Linked DNA regions of Homo sapiens: all the other regions are linked to region 2. The links are contacts of gene promoters, found by promoter capture Hi-C in blood cells and fetal thymus (Javierre and others, 2016). All regions are on one chromosome and are shown on one strand. Each heading gives the region's core, a stretch centred on a gene start or on the middle of the fragment in contact. The rest is flanking DNA. Distances are from core to core; before and after follow the strand shown.

Region 1 (3,179 bases), core at 316-2,815, 220 kb before region 2:
CAAGTCCTCGCTTTCAATTCTTTTGTGTGTATACCTAGAAGGAGAATTGCTGGATCATATGGTAACACTATGTTTAATTTTTTTTGGAAGCACCACACTCTTTTCCCCAGCAGCAGTACCATTTTACATTCCCACCAGCAATGCACAAATGTTCTAATTTCTCCATATCCTTGCCGACAATTTACATTTTAATAATGGCCATCCTAACAAGTGTAAACTGGTATCTCATTGCGGTGTACATTTTTTTTAAAAATTAGGTTGTACCCAAATGTTTGAAGATTGCTGTTGCCTAATTCATGAATCCCCAATGTTTTTAAAAATCTCCCCGACACCAGGTTTTTGTTGAATTGCTTTTGTTGAATTGCCATCCAAGTGGTCCTAAAGACAATGGCATCTTCTTGCAGCATTCTACCTCACTGGTTACAGTGATGGTCCCATAGGTAAGTATCTGACTCAAGCTGGGCAAGAATTACCCATTCCCATGACTACAGAGACCAGTCCAGGTATGGGTATGACTTAAGCCAAGCTAGCTGGGTATCTTTCCTTGAGATTTTTCTAACTGTATATAATGGAAAAAGAACTATTTCCTGATTGTCCATGATGCCAAAGGATGTGAGCATATACCCTTTCTCATAACTGGCAACTCTGCAAAAGGAGATAATGAAACTCACACTGGGAAATGAGCAGAGGAAAGACAGAAATAGACAAAATTGGAGGCCACAGATTCAGTATCCCTAGCTTTCCAGTGATTCCTTCCTATTCTATGAGCTTTGTATCAACAGCGTTCCAACATACCCCACATTTTACTAAAGTAAGTTCTAATTTGGTGTTTGATTTTTTACAAACGGGAGTGTTCTGCGTAATTCAGGCCCTTTAGCAAGGATAGACCAAACAAGTAACTACTGCATGCAGGATAAAAATCTCTGGGACAAAAGCCCTTAATATCCTGGCACCAGCTAAGAAAGTCAGCCACAAAAGAAAGCAGGAAAGAAGCTTAAAGACCACCTTGTCAAATTCCTCGCCATCCCGTCTTTTTTTACTAGAAAGCACACAAGGCTCAGAGATGGCCATAAGCGACAAAGCTACTAAAAGGCAGAAGATCCAAATCTCGATTTGTTGGTCTCAAATACAGGGACTAACTGATCCCCTGACCTCTCTCCCACAATGGGACACTTTCTAGACCCAGGTCTACACTCATACATAATAACCCTACTCAGACCTGTTTTATCATTAAGTTAGCAAAGGATCCCTTTTCTGCACTCAGGTCCCCATACTGTGTACTAAACCTATCCCATCATACTAGGAGTTCTTTTTTTTTTTTTTTTTTTTTTGAGACACAGTCTCACTCTGTTGCCCCGGCTGGAGTGCAGTGGCGTGATCTGGACTCACCGCAAGCTCCGCCTCCCGGGTTCACGCCATTCTCCTGCCTCAGCCTCCCTGAGTAGCTCGGACAACAGACACTGGCCACCACGACAGCTAATTTTTTGTATTTTTAGTAGAGATGGGGTTTCATCATGTTAACCAGGATGGTCTTGATCTCCTGACCTTGTGATCCGCCCGCCTCAGCCTCCCAAAGTGCTGTAGGAGTTTAATTCTTAACACTAACTCCCTCACCCTCCCCACTACTCTCTCCACAATCTGCTACTTATTCAGCAGAAAGTCAATTTCACATTCGGGTGTTTCTAAGATTTCGCTGCTATGTGCATATATTATTTTCAAAGGCGATAATTTTACTTCTTACCCATGGAGAGCAAAAAAGACGACTGCTGATTCAAGGCTAGCATCATCCAATCTACTGCTTATGGTATGGGGGAGTTCTGAAGCACGCCATCCTGAAGACTCTGGTTCAGAGTCCTTGAATACAACATGCCATCTAGGTTGTAGGTAACAACTAGTTTTAGTAAAACTAGTATAACCAAAACACAATGAAACATTACTTTACCTGACACTACACTGTTCAAATTGGGGTCTGCAGAAGTTCCTTAAACAGTACATCAAATTGGAGACCCTTTACAGTGCCAATCACGACTGCATCTACATAATATAAAAGCCAGTTATTTAAAACAGGAAGGCAGGGTATTTCCATATAGAGGGTAAATTGGTACAACATTCTGGAGAGCAATCTGACAAAAACATTGAAAGCTTCAAAAGATTTATTCTTTGATAAAGAAATACTACTTTTAGAAATTTATCCTATGTCCAAATAATCACAGATGCAGGCAAAAGCTTTAACTTCAGGTACTTCTTATAAGTGTATAAAATAGGCACCTATTTAAACAAACTCCAAAATACGAAAACTGAATGCCAGAGGTTAACCTTTTTTGTATCATGAACCATTTGGCAGTCTGCTAAAACCAATAAACCTTCTAAGAAAAATGTTTCAAAACATATAAAATAGTAATAATATTGAAATAGTAAATAAATGTCAAGGTATGTACAATGCCTGTAAAGGAATCAATATGAATTGTCTGATCATCCTATTGATACCAAATTATTAGGTCCTGCTAATATTGTGACTTGTTGCCTAAACTTACAGTTAAAAGAAATGCAGCTGGGCTTGGTGGCTCACACCTGTAATCCCAGCACTTTGGGAGGTCGAGGCAGGTGGATCACAAGGTCAGGAGACAGAAACCATCCTGGCTAACAATGTGAAACCCAGTCTCTATTAAAAATACAAAAAATTAGCCAGGCATGGCGGTGGGCGCCTGCAGTCCCAGCTACTCAGGAAGCTGAGGCAGGAGAATGGCATGAACCCGGCAGGCAGAGCTTGCAGTGAGTGGAGATCGCACCACTGCACTCCAGCCTGGGTGACACAGCGAGACTCCGTCTCAAAAAAAAAAAAAAAAAAAAAAAAAGCTACGTTTCAGTTAAACATCACTGAACGTGAAGATACAAGTTTTTACCTGTCTAAATTATTGGACCCCCTGAATTCTATCCATGTACCCAGGTTAAGAATCCCATAATGCAGGCTGGGTGCGGTGGCTCACACCTGTAATCCCAGCACTTTGGGAGGCAAAGGTAGGTGGATCACTTGAGGTCAGGAGTTCAAGACCAGCCTGGCCAACATGGTGAAACCCCATCTCTACTAAAAATACAAAAATTAGCCAGGCGTGGTGGTGGGCACCTGTAATCTCAGCTACTCTAGAGGCTGAGGCAGGAGAATCGCTTGAACCTGGGAG
Region 2 (3,017 bases), core at 237-2,736:
GGAGCAGTTCACTAAAATAATGCTTACATTCCCATGTGCTACCCAAAGGGAAATAGCCAGGATTCTGTATGACCAATAAATCATCATGAGAAATTATTTCAACCAGAAGCTGGAATGTGAAACACCAAGTTGAACTGTCAGAAGACTGGAAAACACTTAGTGCAAATACAGATAAGAACACATGCTTTCAAGCTGGCACTTGCCCTTCGAACACACAACACAAAGTGGTCTCAACACAAACTGGCTCAGTGTCAAAGTAGGAATTTTGCAACACACCCTACAGTTAACAGTCACTTTTCCCCTCAACACCTAGACTCTTTCTTAACAAAATCAGGATTTGGGGAGAAAGGAAAGTTGACAATAAACTGTCATTTTATAAATGGTGAAACTAAAGCTTAGAGAAGTAAAGCAATTAGTCATAGTCCATTATGAATGTCTTTGCTGGATACCCTTTCCTCTATGCCAAGGGAAGCAGTTAAAAAAAATAAAAAAGATGTTTGTCTAAGGCTTATATGGGAGGTGTATCCCTGTGCATTACTTAGAAAAGTCCCCCAATAATTTTTTTTTTTTTTTTTTTTTAGAGACAGGTTCTTGCTATGTTGCCCAGACTGGTCTTGAACTCCTGGGCTCATGCAATCTGCCACCTCACTTGGCTTGTTTATTAACCTTTTATGGATCATGGGCATATCTACTGAATCTACTGAAACCTGTGAATTCTCTTCCCAGAAGTGATTCCATAAGGGCAGGAACATAACTTTGCCTATAATTTTAGCTCTTCCATGCAGCCCTTGGCAATTCCTGAGCCACAGCAGTGAAAGAAAGCTTGCCTTAAAGTGTTACAGTGATATGAAATGATTCAAATCAGCTTTGCAGACACTGCCCGAACCTGAAAACTTTCTATAGGAGGAGGCTGTATGCATAACAAGTGAAAAATAATTACGATGCTGTTTTTTAGTATTTGAATCAATGCATGAAGTTATTATTTTTCAGCATGTACACACAGATTAAATAAAATGTATTTACAACACAATAGTATAGCCAGATGATATTCAACATCTATATTTCCAAACTGTTCTACCAAATGGTTCTAACTAATGGGTCCCAGCACTACAGATATCCTAAAGACACATTATAAGAATCACCAGCCCCTGTCTGCCTTCATCAGAGCCTCTCACATCCTGTCCCAACATCATGTTCAGTTAATGCGAATTCTTGCTTTAAGAAGGCACAGAAAACATTTACACTATTTATTGTAATTTAAACATCTGCAATTTACCATGATATCTCTTCCCACCTACAGGAAAGATATTGCATTAATATTGCAGCATTGAGTTTCTAATAATACAATTTGCATTGGAAGAATATGACTACCCCAAAACTTGCCTGCTAAGCGTCCATAAATGCTTCCTTTAACTCAGAGGACCTGGAGTTCTGCTAGAAAATTGAATCTGTGTTCAGCAGGCTTTCCTTCCTAGTGACCTCTGCATGCCCCACAGGCTACCCCTGCCTATTTTACACCAGAGTTCTGCAAGTGGGGCACCAAAGCTGGATGGTAACATGAGCTGGCTGCAGCCACAAATAGCAACAGGCCTGCCATGAGTGAAGGTCCAAATATAGACCTGCTGTGGCTGAGTTGCCACTTCTTACTACTCAAGTGTCACCAGGAGAGGTCACATGCCGTGCTCTGAGTTACTTTCTGTGCTGTGAGGGGTTTTAGACTTGTGGCTCTACCATGGGTCTCAGATGGCTGGTCATGTGGAGAGGGCTGGGGACTGTCACGGCAAGACCAGGAAGAAGATTCCTTTTTTTTTTTTTTAAGTGAATGAGTTTCTAAAATTATATGCAAAATTATGTCTGTGTCCTTATAGAATCACTTCCGGGAAGAGAACTCACAGGTTTCAATAGATTCTCAGAGGTGCTCATGAACCATACAAGGTTAAAAAACATTTTGGGGGCACTTTTCTAATCAAAGCACAGGACACACTTCCCATATAAGCCTTAAGCAAACATTATTATTTTTTTTTTTTACTTGCCATGGTATGGCATAGAAATGGGACTATCCAGCCAATACATTCCTTATGGACTATGATTGACTATTTCTCTAAGCTTTAGTTTAATAATTTATAAAATGACAATTTAGTGTTAATGTTCTTTTCTTCCAAAATTCTGACTCTGTTAAGAAGTTGAAAGAGTCTAGGTGTTGAGGAAAAAAGTGAGTGTTAACTGTGGGTGTGTTGCAAAATTCCTACTTTGATGCTGAGCCCACAGACCAGCATAACAGTATAATCTCTCTCTCCTCTCTCTCTCTCACATGCACGCACGCACACACACACACACACACACACAGTGTAATAGTCAGAGTTGTCCAGAGAAACAGAACCAATAGAATGTATACATATATGGAAACAGATTTATCATAAGGAATTGACTCATGTAATTATGAAGACCAAAAAGTCCCAAGATCTGCAGTTAGTAAGCGGAAGATCCAGGAGAGCCAATGGTGTGGTTCTAGTCCAAAGGCCAGCAGGCTCAAGACCCTGGAGAGCCAATGTTTCCATTTGAGTTGGAAGGCAGGAAAAAAACCCATATTCCCACTTGAAGGCAGTTAGGCAGGAAGAATTCCCTCTTATTCAAGCTTTTGTTCTATTCAGACCTTCAATCGATTGGATGAGGCCCACTCACATGAGGGAGGGCAACCAGTTTTACTCAGTCTACTAACTCAAAGGTTAATCTCATCCAGAAACACCATCACACACACACACCCAGAATAATGTCTGACTAAACACCTGGTGACCCAATCAAGTTGACACATTAAAATTAACCATCATACATATATATACATATGCTATAGACAGTTTATATTCCCCTAAAATTCCCATGTTGAAACCAAATCCCCAATGTGATGGTATTTGGAAATGTGGCCTTTGGGAGGTGATTAGGTCATGAAGGCAAGCCCTCATGAATAAAATTAGTGCCATTACATTGGGGGTCCCAGAGAGCTCTTCCATGTGAAGATG
Region 3 (3,295 bases), core at 383-2,882, 250 kb after region 2:
ATAAATGAACCACACAAACCTAATGATGAGCAAAAAAGCCAGAATATATAATGAGCAAGAATATGTACTGTAGAATTCCAGAAGAACTAATTTTGGCTTTAAGATGTTAGAAGTCAAGCTTACAATATGTGCTTTATCAATACATATGTTATAACCCTCCCCCACAAAAAAAAAAAAAACAGTTTATAAGCAGGGGGAGTCCAAGTTAAACTCAAGCAAGATTTTTAAAAAGCTGAAACACTGAAAAAGGAGGTATGATGATAGGCATGCCAATGACCAACCTTTCATTCTGGCCTGGGGTTAGTTCTCTTCACATTTTAGAGGATGGGCAAACACTAAATGCCCAAAGGTATTATGTTGGCTTGGGCAGAAACTTTCTGAGAATACTGCCAATTAGTTAACCATATCATAAATGACACTAATTATTTGGCATGATGATGACTCTTCATTTAATTTTAAAGTAAAATTCATTTTAAAGTATTCAATAATTCAGATACTACTGAACAACTGATAAATATCTAAACAATTATCATGTGTTTTATGGGGGAGAAAAGAAAACATTAAACACACTGGCTTTAAATTTTTTAAATTTAAGTATATTTTAAAAATTATATATATATATATTTTAAGTTTAAAACATTTACATATAACATAAAATATGTATAGAATACTCGAATGTTTGAAAATGCACTTCCTAGATTATACACTGAGCCTGTTTACAATAATTTGCTTTGTCAAATTTTAAATAAATTTTAGCACTAAATAAAAAATTTGTATTAATAAATATTAAATCTATCTCATGCAATTTTCCCTCAAACTATTTTTCATTTGGAATTTCCTTATTTTTTTTTAACTGCACCTTTTTTGTTTAGACACACAAATACTTTGGAATTTCAAATTTATAGAAAAGTTGAAAAGATAGTGCAATGAAAACCCATATACCCTTTATCCAGATTTATCTAAATATTATTTAACATTTTGCCTCATTTATTAATTTTTTTTCCATATATATACACACACACACACACACACACACACATCTATCTGGGAGGAGAGACTAAACTATTTGAGAGTAAGTTGCACACATCATGGCCTTTTACTCTCTTTTTTAGTGACAAGGTCTCACTGTCACCTAGGCTGGAGTGCAGTGGCACAATCTCGGCTTACTGCAACCTCTACCTCCCAGGTTCAAGGGATTCACCTGCCTCAGCCTCCTGAGTAGCTGGGACCACAGGCGCCTGCCACCACACCCACCTAATCTTTGAATTTTTAATAGAGACAGGGTTTCGCCATGTTGGCCAGGCTGGTCTCCAACTCCTGACCTCAAGCGATCCACCTGCCCAAAGTGTTGGGATTACAAGCATGGGCCACCGTGCTTGGTTTTTGTATTTTTTAATAGAGACAAGGTTTCACCATGTTGTGCAGGCTGGTCTCCAACTTCTGGGCTCAAGCAATCCACCCACCTCGGCCTCCCAAAGTGCTGGGATTTTTGGTGTGAGCCATCAGGTTTGAAGGGCTTTTACTCTTAAATTTCCTAAGATTAAGGATATTCTCTTACATAATCATAGTAATTAATTTTGATAAATTTAACATCAATACAATATCTTTACCTAATCCACTGGCTGTATTTCAGTTTTGTCACTTGCCCCAACGTTTTTTAATAACATTTTTCCTTCTACTACGGCATCTAGTCTAGGATCACAGTTATACATTTTCAAGTTATGAAGTAGTACATTTTTATAAAGTGAAATTCTAATATCAACAGATTTTTTTTTTTTTTTTTGAGATGGAGTCTCGCTCTGTCGCCCAGGCTGGAGTGCAGTGGCGTGATCTCGGCTCATTGCAAGCTCTGCCTCCCGGGTTCACACCATTCTACTGCCTCAGCCTCCCGAGTAGCTGGGACTACAGGCGCCCACCACCTCGCCCGGCTAATTTTTTTTTTTTTTTTTTTTTTTTAGTAGAGACGGGGTTTCACTGTGTTAGCCAGGATGGTCTCGATCTCCTGACCCCGTGATCTGCCCACCTTCGCCTTCCAAAGTGCTGGGAGGTGTGAGCCACCACTCCCAGCCTCAAAAGACATTTTAATTGGCCAACTCAACTATATTTTTAGTTGGTGTTCATATAAAAATTGATCTTTCACTCTAGGAAAAACAATTTTCTATAAAAATTATCTTATTCAGGGTAGCAAATGTCTGTCACTCCTTACACAGGCAATATCAAATTTCCTATGGAATCTACTGCTGCTATTTAGGGTAAAATAAATTTTCTCAAAACGGACTTTGACTTTGGCATTCTCTTTGATAACACTTCATAAAAAGTGTTTTTCCCTCTATAAATCATGCTGGTACAGTATACTGGCACTTTGCTTTAGAGAGAAGCTGGCAAAGGCCCTCTTAAGTAAATGAACATGCTCAGTTCAAATGACTCACTTAGCAGGAACAAGAAGTTTCACATGACAATTTATGGGCTAATTCACATGACCCCACCAGTGAAAAATGTAATACTGGAATCTCAGACCAATAAGATACTGAAAAGTTTTTTTTTTCTCATAGTGACACCTGTTAATCCTTGCTACCCAACATGTACTCCAGAAACACTGGTGTCATCTGAATGCCTGTTAGAAATGTACTCTGAGGCCCTATTCTGGTCCTACTGAACCAGTATCTGCATTTTAATTGCCAAAGTTTAGTTTATTGGTTTCTGAATTTATATCTCACCTTTAAAATAAAAGTAGTTAAGTGATCGTCTCTACATGCATTAAAACTCCTTGGACAATAAAGAATCTTATGAATATCAACTTATTTATTAGATTTTAATGACAAATTCAAAAGAGGAAAAAATACGGAGATATCACTTATTAGTTATATGACTTTGGTCAAGTTACTTCACCTCTCTGTGCCTCAATTTCCTTACTTAAAAATGGTGATAATAAGAAAACCTTTACTTTGAAAACCTACACCTCATAAAGTTATTGTGAGGATTAAATGAATTAATGTACACAAAGTGCTGAGAAAGGTGCCTGGCATACAATCAGCTCCCAGTACATTCTGCTATTATCAGTATCACTAAACCTTCACAACTATCGATTTTAGGTGAGACCTTAGTTTTACCCACTGCTGTCTAGTGTAATAAGACGTTAACTTCTGTAAGCTTCCATTTTTCATCTTTAAAAAGAGAATAAGGAGATAATAGGCGAGGCACGGTGGCTCACGCCTATAATCCCACCACTTTGGGAGGCCAAGGCAGGTGGATCACTTGAGGTCAGGAGTTTGAGACCAGCTTGGCCAACATGGGG
Region 4 (3,077 bases), core at 342-2,841, 190 kb before region 2:
CAGAGCGAGAGTCTGTCCAAAAAAAAAAAAACAAAAAAAAAAACACAGAAATTTGAATAATTGTATTTTAAAAACTGGGTCAGGCAAGGTGGCTCACACCTGTAATCCCAGCACTTTGGGAGTCCAAGGCGGGTGGGTCATGAGGTCAGAAGTTCAAGATCAGCCTGGCCAAGATGGTGAAACCCCATCTCTATTAAAAATACAAAAATTAGCTGGGCAGGTGGCAGGCGCCTGTAATCCCAGCTACTCAGGAGGCTGAGGCAGGAGAATCGCTTGAACCTGGGGGGCGGAGGTTGCAGTAAGCCAAGACTGCACCACTGCACTCCAGCCTGGGCAACATAGTGAGACTCTGTCTCAAAAAAAAGAACAAACAAACAAACAAACAAACAAAACAAACAAACAAAAAACTGAATCCACATTTTAAAAACTGTTCCTCAAAAAAACAAAAACAAACAAAAACACACTCCAGGCCCAAGTGGCTTCAGCAATGAATTATATCAAAATTTAAGGAAGACTATTATAAATTTCACACAAGCTCTTCTCAAGAACAGCGAGGAAAAAAAAAAACTTTTCAAGAAGCTAATGATTTGCTTCAAGAAGCTAACGACTCTGACACCAGGGATATTTTAAGGAAAGAAAATTACAAGCTTATCTCTTATGTGCATGAATACAAAAATCCTGAAGACAACATTTACAAATGAAATCCAAACAATATACTAAATAAAATATATTATGAACAACTTGAGTTAATTCCAGGAATGCGAAGTTGGCTTTACTTTGGTATTCTTTCCTGAATGTTATTCCTACATCTATAGAATAAAGGAGAAAGGTTAAATGAATAGATGCAGAAAAGCTGATATAATTTAATAACATTCATGATTTTATGTTTGTTTTCTTGGGGGTTTTTTTGTTTTGTTTTGTTTTTTTGGAGACAGTGTCTGGCTGTGTCACCCAGGCTGGAGTGCAGCGGCACGATCTTGGCTCACTGCAATCTCCACCTCCTGAGCTCAAGCGATCCTCCCACCTCAGCCCCAAGTAACTGGGACTACAGGTACGTGCCACCACACCCGGCTTTTCATACTTTTGTACAGATGGGGTTTCACTACATTGCCCAGGCTGGTCTCTAACCACCTCAACCTCCCCAAGTGCTGGGATTATAGACATGAGCCACTGCATCCTGCAGATTTTCTTTTTTTAAAAGCCTCTTGGCAAAGTCTGAAAAGAACTTTCTTAATCAGATAAAAAACATTCACAACTTCAGCATATTTAAAGGAGAAATGCTAAGAAGTTCACTCACAACCCCTCCCCTAAGACTGGAAACAAGCTCCCCCCGGGGAGAGAGACACTCACCCTGGATGGGAGCCTGGAACTCTACCACCCCGCCCCGCTCCCCCCTCAATGCCCCCCTGGGACAGCCCGGGAGGCTGCCAGGAAGGGACTGGCCTCCTTGGGAGGCTCCCAGGATCCTCTTCAGCCTCGCTGCTTCTGAGTCCCTGCCGGCAAGCCTCCGCCAAGCAGTGGCCTTGCTGATGCCTGGGGAAGCCCACCGGGAGAGAGACACACACCCTGGGTGGGACCCTGGGGCTCTAAGACTCCCTACCCTGGGACGGCCCCAGGGGCTGCTGGAAAGGGACTGGCCTCCTCGGGAGGCTCCCAGCGTCCTCTTCGTCACTCCTAACCACATAAAAATATGGGTCTTGCTCCCAGGCTGGAGTGCAGCAGCATTATCACAGCTCACTGAAGCCTCGAACTCCTGGGCTCAAGTGACCCTCTCACCTTAACCTCCCAAAGTGCTGGGATTACAGGCACGAGCCACTGCACCCAGCTGTAATATTCTATTTCTTGACCTGGGTAGTGGTTATGTGGGTGTCTGCTGTATAACTGATTAAAATATACAGGTGTTTTATGCAAGTTTCCATATATTCTATGTTTAACAATTTGGAAAAGTCCATCAAACTAGTCCAAGAATTAAACAAAACACAATGATAATCTAAGTAATCACTAAAAATTACTGAAGTCTAAATAAATACTGATTGTGAACACATACATACACACAAAACTGCAAGTAAATTCCTAGATATTATCAGTACCAAATGTGGGGGGGAGTACAATTTGAACACAAAATGAGGGCCTTTTTCAGCTTAGGCACCCAGTTTGAGAGAATGTATTCATTAAGCAATTGTATAATGTTACCTAACATGCACCAGGCCCAATACTGAGGATTAGAAATCCAAGGATTTCAAAAGATCTTTAAAAAAAAGAAAGAAAGAAACGAAACGAAACCCAAGGATATTTAAGACCTAGTCCTTACACATTCTTCAAGAGACTTACAGTATAAACAGAAAACCTAGTTCAACTCTTTAAAATATAAGTGTGTGTGTGTGTGTGTGTGTGTGTGTGTGTATATATATATATGACCTCAGCCAACGCTCTCACAACTGCATCTTTATATACCCACACTATCACAATCACTATCACCATTTAGTAAGTGCAGTTATGTGCATCATTGTAGATAGTATTCAATACAAATCTTATTTAAGCTTCACAAAACCCCTACAAATGGGTACTATTTCTACCTATGTGTCTAAAGAGGAAATTTAAACTCAGAGTGTAAGCCAAGGTCACAGCAAGTAAGTAGCACGACCAGAATTTGTTCTCAGGTCATCTGCATTCAGAGCCTGTACCCTATCTTTGTTTGGGTTTATTATGAAACGGACAATGTTTTTTCAAAACTGTACCCTATCCTCCCATTTTAAGAATGTATATGTTTACACCACCACATGATGGATCCACAAATAAACACGAAGAGCCAAGAAGGACCTTGCTTCATCTCACAGATTGACAGACTACAGAACATTGGAGGCAGGACAGTGTTATAAAGTTTCTGAAGTGACAACCAAGCCAACTTTGAATAAAATAATTTTTTCTAGGAAGACAGTCAATTTAGTTGTCAACTATGTAGCAGAAGAGCATTCATTGCACAACTTCATCTGTCAGTGATTTTAATTATATAATATGCATGGAATGTCAAGAAACAGCAGACAGAATGGCATAAAGGGAAAGAACCCTGGGACACA
Region 5 (3,296 bases), core at 30-2,529, 220 kb after region 2:
TGATATATAAAATTACTACAATACAGTAACATATTGTAATAGTAACATAATACTCAAAATATTTAATGATATTTACTCAATTATAACTAAATTCTTTTACATTATAATTTTTTTGTGGTAAAGTTATGTACCATTTTAACCATTTTTTCTTTTTTTTTGAGATGGAGTCTCACTCTGTCACCCAGCCTGGAGTGCAGTGGCGTGGTCTTGGCTCACTGCCAGCTCCGCCTCCCGGGTTCACGCAATTCTCCTGTCTCAGCCTCCCGAGTAGCTGGGACTACAGGTGCCCACCACCACGCCCGGCTAATTTTTTGTATTCTTAGTAGAGACGGGGTTTCACCGTGTTAGCCAGGATGGTCTCGATCTCTTGACCTTGTGATCCGCCCGCCTCAGCCTCCCAAAGTGCTGGGATTACAGGCATGAGCCACCACGCCTGGCCCATTTTAACCATTTTTAAGTGTACAGTTCAATGGCACTAAATACATTCATATCATTGTACAACTGTCACCATTATTCATCTCTGTAACTGAATTTTGATGACATACAGGAACACCAATGGTTTTTAAATATACTTTTTATAAGTGGCCACTATTCTCTTTTATTGGTTCTAGTAGTTTTTTAGCTTGATACTGAGGTTACCTAGGTGGACCAGTTGTTCTCAAAACGAGTTCCACCCCCAAGGAGGCATACTCGATTTCACAAAGGTTTAGGGGGGCACTACTGGCAAGGAACTAGGGAAACTGGATTTCCTGAAATGCACAGAACAGTCTCCCATAACTCAATCAACTTTTAAGTGTCTTGCCAGAATTCATGTAGGTAAAAAATCTGTTTATAACTACAAGCCTTGAACCTCATTCCATTTTGTTTATAAACCAGATTTTTTAGTGCTTTTTTTTTTTTTTTTTTTTTTGAGACGGAGTTTTGCTCTTGTTGCCCAGGCTGGAGTGCAATGGTGCAATATTGGCTCACCACAACCTCCACCTCCCAGGTTCAAGCAATTCTCCTGCCTCAGCCTCCCAAGTAGCTGGTATTACAGGCATGTGCCCCCACACCTGGCTAATTTTGTATTTTTAGTAGAGACGGGGTTTCTCCATGTTGGTCAGACTGGTCTCGAGCTCCCGACCTGAGGTGATCCGCCCGCCTCGGCCTCCCAAAGTGTGGGGATTACAGGCATGAGCCACTGTGCCCAGCCTTTTAGTGCAATTTTAATATTCAGACTTTTACAAGAGGCAACTACCATATAAACAGAAGGAATATACAGTCAATTCTCATTATCTGTGGAAGTTATATTTAATATACAGAATTAGCAAATACTAAACCACTGCTCCTAGGGGAAATACGTGTGTGTGTGTGTGTGTGTGTGTATGTATGTATGTCTACATATACACACATATACACGCCTCGCATAGATTATAATCTTAAGTCCTAAAAACAATTCATCCAGCCAGGCGTGGTGGGTCACACCTGTAACCCAGCACTTTGGGAGGCCAATGCTGGTGAATCACCTGAGGTCAGGAGTTCGGGACCAGCCTGGCCAACATGGTGAAACCCCGTCTCTATTAAAAATACAAAATTAGCCAGGTGTGGTGGCACATGCCTGTAATCCCAGCTACCTGGGAGCCTGAGGCAGGAGAATCGCTTGAACCTGGGAGGTGGACGTTGCAGTGAGCCGGGATCGCACCACTGCACTCCAGCCTGGGCAACAAGAGCGAAACTCTATCTCAAAACAAACAAACAAACACCTCGTCCTAGTATATTCTATTTTCTTTATTCCACAAAAGAGAAAACAGAGTTTGGAAGTGTTAAGTGACTTGTCTGAGGCTGCCCCACTAAGAGGTGCCAGAGCTGGCCTTCAAGCCCCATTCAACCTGCCCAAGAGCCAGAGTTTCTTGCACTCCACTGCACTGCCCCTCCCCTTCTCCACCTCTGTAGGAGAGCTGAACCAGGAAAGTAGAGCCTTGCCTTGTTCAGCCACAGCTGGAAACGTGCTGGTCTGGCAACTAAAGTCTTTGCTGAAAACGATTAAGAAAGTGCCCCGAATATTGACTTTACAGGTTACAGATAAATTTCAGCCAGTAGGCAAGTTCAGAAATAGACACTATGAGTAGGACCAACTATATATACTCTTTTACCTGGAACCTTTAAAGAAAACGTAAGTGGCAGCAATGCTGCTCATGATATTTAAGACATAACACGCCTGTACTGTGCAGCTGAAACTGTCTCATCATGGTGATGCATATATGTACAGCAACTAACTACTTCAGTTTGCCTTCCAGTGTTGTCCTGCCCAAAGTCTATGTATTGAACTACATATTTTACTATCAATTACATTTATTCCCCTTTATATTATAACTAGATCACTTATCAATTAAAAAATGTATAAAGCATATTATCTATGAATTTTATTTCAGGTTAGTAAAGTGGGAATTACAAAATATTTATTAAAAAAAGAGAGAACTGGGTTTGATAGAGTTGTGAACTACTAATGTACATAATGCCATTAGCAAATAATCAATCAGAATTATAATAACACTGCTTTAAACAGCAAGGATATCTCTATCTTGAGGTTTCAATAGTTTATCATGTCAAACAAGTATTCTTCTAGGCCTAATCTAGTAAGAATTATATCTGGAAGGAAGGTGAAATTTTATCAAAAGCCTTTCTGACATCTATTGAAATTAAATTGTTTTTCTTCTTTGATCTGTTGTGAGAATTATACTAATACATTTCCTAACACTGAGCCATTCTTTCAATCTCCAAATAAACTCTGTTTGGTCATACAGTGTTATTCTTCGAAGGTACAGATTCAATATCCTAATGTTTTACACAAAATTTCTTCTTTATATTGAGATTGATCTAGAATTTTTTTTGTCTAGTCTGATGCCTATATAAGGGTTATGCTTCCTTCAATAATTAACCAAGTAGTACTTTATTCTTTTAATGCTCAAGGAAACTAACTGTTCCTTGAGGATTTGACAAAACTCACCTGTAAAAACCACCTTGTGAAGGGACAGTTCTTTGATAACTTTTAATTCCTTCCATGGTAATTGGTCTATTCAGGCTTTTCTTCTTCAGTCAATTTTGATAATTTATATTTGCCTATAAAATGATCCATTCCATCAACATGTTCAATTTATTAGCACAGAATAAACCCAGAATTAAAATAAAAATGTCAGCATATAATTATATTCCCATTTTTGCTTCTAAATGTGAATGTTTATTACCTTTGCCAGAGGTTTATTTATTTTATTGGTCTTTTAAAGGAACCAGCTTATGGATTTATGAATTCTACTATT
Region 6 (3,361 bases), core at 33-2,532, 240 kb before region 2:
CAGGAAAAGTGATGGCTAGAACAAGCTGATCACTGTGAAAAACATTCAAGACAACCCAAGGGACTTTGTAAGCTCACACGGAGCAAAACCAAAAGGAGCAAGGGCCTACTTAGAGCAGAAAGAGAAAAATGTTATTAAGGATTTAAGGACATTACTGGGTCACTTGACAAAACTGGAATATGAATGACAGTTTAATCAAAGTAGTGTTATCAACTTTAAATTGACTAAAGTTAACTGTTTTGTTACATATGAATGTATGTAAGATCATCTCTATTCTTTTTTTTTTTTTTTTTTTTTTTTGAGCAAGGGTCTCCCTCTGTAACCCAGGCTAGAGCGCAGGTGCACAATTACAGCTCACTGCAGTCTCAACCTCCCACTTCAGCCTCCAAAGTAGCTAGCGGCATGCCACCATGTCTGACTAATTTTTTTTTTTTTTTTTTGGTAGAGGCAGGATCTCACTCTGTTGCCCAGGCTGGTCTTGAACTCCTGGGCTCAAGCAATCCTCCTGCCTCAGCCTCCCAAAGTACTCAGGTCACAGGTGTGAGCCTCCGTGCCTGGGCCAATTATCTCTCCTCTTAATGATTCAGAAAACAATTATGTATTGATACATGGAGAGAGAATGTGCAAATGATAAAGCAAATGGGGTAAAATGAACACGAACAATAGGAGGTTCTGGATAAAAAGGATTACAAATATTCTTTGTATAATTTTATTTGTATAACTTCTATAAATTTGAAATTATTTCCATTTTTTTTTAATGACAGGAAGAAAAACAAGTCAATTCCCATTTGGCTTTCTTTGCCTCTTTCAAGGTAACTTATCTAATCAGCAGAGGGAAATCAAGCACAAGTAATAGGAACTAGGATCCCAGAGGATAAGACAGTAATTGAGTACTTTTGGAGTCTCTATTAGAAGAAATAATCTTTTAAACATGCTTTTTAAAGTCTCAAAAAAATCTGCATAGATATTTGCAGGCCCACATGTGTAAAAAGTTGTGCCTTCTCAACCAAGCATACCAAGACCAATCTTTACCATCCTACTCCAATAGCAATTAGCTCAACATCTGGCAAAAAGCAGGTGAACAATGACTGCTGAATTCTACTGAAAGACAGAGAGTACGTATTCCATAGAGCCAGTACGCTAAGGCCCTACCCTTTTCTATCAAGGATATTCAATTTAAGGACACAATGGTTTTTTTTGTTTTTTTGTTTTGTTTTTTTTTGAGACGGAGTCTCGCTCTGTTGCCCAGGCTGGAGTGCGGTGGCGTGATCTCAGCTCACTGCAAGCTCTGCCTCCCGGGTTCACGCCATTCTCCTGCCTCAGCCTCCCGAGTAGCTGGGACTACAGGCACCTGCCACCACACCCGGCTAATTTTGTGTGTGTGTGTGTTTTTAGCAGAGATGGGGTTTCACCGTGTTAGCCAGGATGGTCTTGATCTCCTGACCTTGTGATCCACCCGCCTCAGCCTCCCAAAGGGCTGGAATTACAGGCGTGAGCCACTGCGCCCAGCCTAAGGACACAATGTTGACTTAGAGTGTAATACAGATTTAGGGGAATAAACCTTAACTCATCCCTACCCAGCCCATCGCCAAAACAGAGGTTTAAAAACCAGTGACTCACCGCATCACATCTGCGACAATACTTCTTCCCTGAGTCTCAATTTCTTCAAAGAGAAAAAGGTTGAAGAAAGCTCCTCTGCTTGAGGAGGGGCAGGGTGGAAATCACTCTGTCCTAATCAACCCTCCCCAGACTCTACTGGGATCTTCAGGGCCACTGCAATACACTCCTACATTCAAGTACAGGAGCAAGAAAGAGTGTCTCACTGAATTATATACCAACCACATAGAAAAACGGGGAAAGGACTTGGATTGATGGCTCAGAAAGGGGCAATGCCATCCTAGAGAATAGGATCAGGGTGCCCCAGAATTAACACGTGGGATGTCAGCATCTCCATGCATCAGTTTCCTGCAAATATTAAATCAGAAGGGATATACTGTAAATTTGACTAGAAGATACCAAGAAGACAAGAGGCCTAGAACTTGCCAGCTGGTTTGATATTTCCTTCAACCCACAGAACAAGTGAATTTTGTGGAAACTGCCACCCATGGTCAGATGCCCTAGAGTGACCTAATTGTACCTCTATAGGGTCTGGCCAGGCAGTTCTCTGAGTGTCTACAGATCAAAGGAAGGAAAGCAGCAAAGACAATGGAAAGAAAGCAGCAAAGCAGCAAAGACAAAGGGAAGTGGGGGGACCTCATTTCAAGAAAGAAAACCTGTCTTGCTCCCAGCTCATGAGACCATACCTGCCCTATGTAAGGTTGCTGAGTACGCAGCACCGATTTCCACCAGCTGGGAATCAGAAGGAAAGGAGCAAAATAGCTAGCGTTAGACTGTTCCCATTTATATTCAAAGCCACGAGCATACCTAACTGGAAAGGCATTCTCTTTAAGCCACACAAACTAAAATCCAGTGGAAATGACAGGTCCCTTATAATGCAGGCCAGTGTCTCATCTCAAAGTCCACTCCCCATCATGGGGCACACAACTTCATAATTCCAAATGTCAAGTATTAACCTAGATGGATTAGAGGAGGGGGAGGGGTGGTGAGAAGTCCTAGAGTCAATCTCCAATAACGGCCAAGGCCCTGACCTCTTTGCTCTGTTCTTTCCTGGCCTCCAGAACACAAGGGATCATGGAAAGTCTGAGGTTTACCAAGTGCCTCCAGCTCTGGTGTCCAAGTGTCCAGCAAATTCCTATCTTCTAAAAATGGGTAAGACATTGTGCTCTTCCTAGAACAGACGTACCCATCCCCATTCACATGCTGGCAGGAAATCAGCTACAGACATCTCTCAGGGAAGTCATGGGGAGGAGAGGACCTGGCAGAGGGTTCCAGTTCATTAATGCTACCTCAGAGGGTATAAGAGACCAAATCAGCAGTGATATTTTTAGACTGATTGTTAATTTTCTCTACTTTCACCCTTCTATGCCAGCTCCTGTCGGTTTTACAGCTGAGTCACTGTTCAAATTTTCGGAAGCCTTCCCCAAGAGTACAAAGGCACCTGGAGTGTGATGGCAGCATTAGCAATGGCAACAAGAGCCTGGCACTGAATGCCTGCATTATAAGACCATCTGAGCTTGAGCTTAGCTGAAGGAGAGACTAGCCCCAAGACATGATGGTCAGATATTTGTTATCTAATGGGAATAGTCTAATGGGGGAAAAAATCTAACGGGGAAAATCCAGACCAGGAGCCATTATTTCTAGCCTGTGATATAAGGCCGTATACCTGGAACCCTTCTTCCCTATCACCATCCTTGGTTCTAGGTTGCTTACTCAGGATCTCTCTGAAGGAATAGGAAGGGGG
Region 7 (2,965 bases), core at 149-2,648, 200 kb after region 2:
AGCACTCTGGGAGGCTGAGGCGGGTGGATCACCTGAGGTCAGGAGTTCGAGACCAGCCTGGCCAATGTGGCAAAACCCTGTCTCTACTAAAAATTAGCCAGACGTGTTGGCGCGCGCCTCCAATCCCAGCTACTCGGGAGGCTGAAGCAGGAGAATCACTTGAACCGGGGAGGGGCGGGGCGCGGGGCGGATGTTGCAGTGAGCCGAGATTGCGCCATCGCACCCTAGCCTGGGCAACAAGAGCGAAAACACCGTCCCAAAAGAAAAAGAAAGGATTTGTTTTCAAACACAGCCTTTAAAGAAGATAAAATTTGAGAAGGGGTTTATTTAGATGAGTGGAATTTGAACAGGCAGAAGAATGAGGAACATCTTTCAGGCAAACGTCAGCGCATGAGCACTAGCCAAAAATCAGAAATGACCTGCCACAGGTGGGGAGCATTCAAATGGATTTTTAGGTGCAGTCTGTTAATCAATGACTGTGAATGCCAGCTGGAACCTGGATAGGAGCTATATAGTATAGCACTGGAAAACAAGCAGAGCTTTAAGAAATATAAACATGGCTGGGCCCCCCTCCTGCAGATTCTATTTCAAGAAGCCTAGAGTGATACCCAGGGATCTGTATTTAGAAATCATTCCCAGGTGACTTTGATCTCCACCCCTAGTGCAAAACCATATTAATGACATCATATGAACCTTCTATCTTCCCAATGAGCTTCTCCTAGCAAGCAAGGACAAAGTACTTGACGGAGTCCCTCATGGAGATGACTAACAATAGGAATTGCTTTAGATTGTTTAGCGTGGTGATGACTTAAAGGATGAGAGAGCTAAGCAAGATTAATCTGACAGCAGGTTCAGGAATGAATTCAGAAAGGAGAAAACACTGGCAACAGCGGCAGTGAAGAAGCATAGGCACACAGTGTGGATAGTCTCAGTAAGGATTAAGGCAGCAGGCATGAAGGAGACTAAATAGGAAGAATTGACAGATTTATGCAATTAAGTAAATATAAAAGTTATAAACAACTAGTTTCCCAATTATTTGAAAAAGACAAAGAAAAATCAGTATTTTATGAATCATCATTAATATGTAATAATCAAACATGGCTGGGCATGGTGGTTCACGTTTGTAATCCCAGCACTTTGGGAGGCTGAGGTGGGCAGATCAGTTGAGGTCAGGAGTTCAAGACCAGCCTGGCCAACATGATGAAACCCCGTCTCTACTAAAAATACAAAAATTAGCTGGGTGTGGTGGTGGGCACCTGTAATCCCAGCTACTTGGGAGGCCTGAGGCTGAAGAATCACTTGAACCTGGGAGGCAGAGGTTGCAGTGAGCCAAGATCACGCCACTGCATTCCAGCCTGGGCAACAGAGCAAGACTCCATCTCAAAAAAGAAATAAAATAAGGCCAGGCGCAGTGGCTCACGCCTGTAATCCCAGCACTTTGGGAGGCCGGGGTGGGTGAATCACCTGAGGTCAGGCGTTCAAGACCAGCCTGTCCAACATGGTGAAACCCTGTCTCTACTACAAATACAAAAATTAGGTGGGCCTGGTGGTGGGTGCCTGTAATCCCAACTACTCAGGAGGCTGAGGCAGGAGAATCGCTTGAATCCAGGAGTGAGAGGTAGCAGTGCGTCAAGATTGCACCACTGCACTCCAGGCTGGACAACAGAGCGAGACTCCGTCTCAAAAAAAAAAAGAAAATAATTAAAGAAGTTTAAAAAGAGAGAGACCTCCGGGCATGGTGGCTCATACCTCTAATCCCAGCGCTTCGGGAGGAGAAGGCAGGTGGATCATTTGAGGTCAGGAGTTCAAGACCAGCCTGACCAACATGGTGAAACTCCGTCTCTATTAAAAATACAAAAATTAGCCAGGCATGGTGGCATGCGCCTATAATCCCAGCTACTCAGGAAGCTGAGGCAGGAGAATAGCTTGAACCCAGGAGGTGGAGGTTGCAGTGAGCCAAGACTACGCCACTGCACTCCAGCTTGGGCGACAGAGCAAGATTTTGTCTCAAAAAAAAAAAAAAGAGAGCGAGACCTACCTTATCCAAAACCACATCACTCTTCCTGAGTTCTAGGACCTTGGAAAGATACCGACAGAGCTCAGCATTAGCCTCTCCCTCTGATGGAGGTGCTGCAATAGCTACATTTACAGCCTCTGCTGTCAAATCTGGAATGAAAATAGTGTGGACTTTATCCTTAAGGAGTTCTTTTTCTTCATGAAGCAAGGACATTTTGTAAAAGAGTTTTTGCATTTGCCTGGCACACAGATTTTCAATTAAAAACTGTTGAATGAAGAAATGAATGATTAAACTAATCACATTTAAGGAACATGAACATGATAAAAATGGCCCTACCATTACAGGAAATAAATCCAGAGAAGAAAAGTTATTGACCCAATCTTGCCGACCAAGATGGGCTTACAGAGCCCTGGGGAATATCCTGGATTTAGGCAACTGGAAATTGCCCTTGGTATGTGAAGAGCCCCAGGCAGGGAGTCATAGATGGCCTTCAGCCTCATCAATGTCACTGAAGAAGTGTATGGACAGGGCAGCTTACTAGATTGTACAAGGTTGTGCAGGGTTTCCTCAACAGGAAAATGAGAGCCCCGGACTAGGTTCACCTCTTATGTGACACATATCTTGAGTGTTTTTAAAATTTAATAATGTTTACTTAACAAATATTTACAGAGCACTTACTATACACCAATTTTAAGCACACACAAATGTGTTAAAGGCTTTACAAATACTAACTTCTTTAATCCTTATAATAACTTTATGAAGATATTAGTACCATTATTATCTCCATTTTACAAATGAGCCATGGCATCCAGCCTCCCATTTTAGATCTAATGAAACATAATACTCCAACGTAGACAGTGTCCACACCCACTACTTAGAAAATGCTGGCCAAGGAGGGTATGGCTAAGTTAACTTGGTCATCAGCATAAACCAGGTCTAGCACGTCAA

The links. The method cuts DNA at HindIII sites, captures the fragments that hold promoters and counts their contacts. A CHiCAGO score of 5 or more calls a contact.
Region 1: a fragment that was not itself captured here is called in contact with the fragment with the promoter of FSD2 in region 2 in 5 of 17 cell types (naive CD8 T cells, total CD8 T cells, naive B cells and 2 more); the score reaches 6.8 in naive CD8 T cells.
Region 3: a contact is called between a fragment that was not itself captured here and the fragment with the promoter of FSD2 in region 2, in 9 of 17 cell types (naive CD8 T cells, total CD8 T cells, non-activated CD4 T cells and 6 more). The highest score is 8.7, in naive CD8 T cells.
Region 4: a contact is called between a fragment that was not itself captured here and the fragment with the promoter of FSD2 in region 2, in 1 of 17 cell types (naive CD8 T cells). The highest score is 6.9, in naive CD8 T cells.
Region 5: a fragment that was not itself captured here is called in contact with the fragment with the promoter of FSD2 in region 2 in 10 of 17 cell types (total B cells, naive B cells, total CD8 T cells and 7 more); the score reaches 11.6 in total B cells.
Region 6: a contact is called between a fragment that was not itself captured here and the fragment with the promoter of FSD2 in region 2, in 9 of 17 cell types (total CD8 T cells, non-activated CD4 T cells, naive CD8 T cells and 6 more). The highest score is 8.0, in total CD8 T cells.
Region 7: a fragment that was not itself captured here is called in contact with the fragment with the promoter of FSD2 in region 2 in 16 of 17 cell types (total B cells, naive B cells, naive CD8 T cells and 13 more); the score reaches 26.0 in total B cells.

Annotation. Positions count from the first base shown.
Region 1 is chr15:82,581,429-82,584,607 of GRCh38, forward strand. All of the region lies in intron 3 of CPEB1 (cytoplasmic polyadenylation element binding protein 1), which reads right to left. Among named protein-coding and RNA genes, the nearest start is that of RPS17, 43 kb to the left of the region's middle. The HindIII fragment of the contact is 1,149 bases long and covers 992-2,140 here.
Region 2 is chr15:82,804,583-82,807,599 of GRCh38, forward strand. FSD2 (fibronectin type III and SPRY domain containing 2) reads right to left here and starts at 1,487. Exons shown (of 13, transcript NM_001007122.4): 1 at 1,384-1,487. RefSeq lists an enhancer at 1,771-1,870. The HindIII fragment of the contact is 1,284 bases long and covers 821-2,104 here.
Region 3 is chr15:83,050,866-83,054,160 of GRCh38, forward strand. The region is part of intron 2 of BTBD1 (BTB domain containing 1); the gene reads right to left. All of the region lies in intron 1 of LOC124903542 (a long non-coding RNA gene), which reads left to right. Among named protein-coding and RNA genes, the nearest start is that of BTBD1, 15 kb to the right of the region's middle. The HindIII fragment of the contact is 3,032 bases long and covers 117-3,148 here.
Region 4 is chr15:82,612,478-82,615,554 of GRCh38, forward strand. All of the region lies in intron 3 of CPEB1 (cytoplasmic polyadenylation element binding protein 1), which reads right to left. Among named protein-coding and RNA genes, the nearest start is that of CPEB1, 33 kb to the right of the region's middle. The HindIII fragment of the contact is 1,893 bases long and covers 646-2,538 here.
Region 5 is chr15:83,025,630-83,028,925 of GRCh38, forward strand. The region is part of intron 5 of BTBD1 (BTB domain containing 1); the gene reads right to left. All of the region lies in intron 1 of LOC124903542 (a long non-coding RNA gene), which reads left to right. Among named protein-coding and RNA genes, the nearest start is that of C15orf40, 16 kb to the left of the region's middle. The HindIII fragment of the contact is 7,754 bases long and covers 1-3,296 here.
Region 6 is chr15:82,563,082-82,566,442 of GRCh38, forward strand. The region is part of intron 4 of CPEB1 (cytoplasmic polyadenylation element binding protein 1); the gene reads right to left. Among named protein-coding and RNA genes, the nearest start is that of RPS17, 24 kb to the left of the region's middle. The HindIII fragment of the contact is 4,848 bases long and covers 1-3,361 here.
Region 7 is chr15:83,006,510-83,009,474 of GRCh38, forward strand. It overlaps C15orf40 (chromosome 15 open reading frame 40), which reads right to left. Exons shown (of 4, transcript NM_144597.3): 3 at 2,039-2,166. Among named protein-coding and RNA genes, the nearest start is that of C15orf40, 3.6 kb to the right of the region's middle. The HindIII fragment of the contact is 4,494 bases long and covers 1-2,965 here.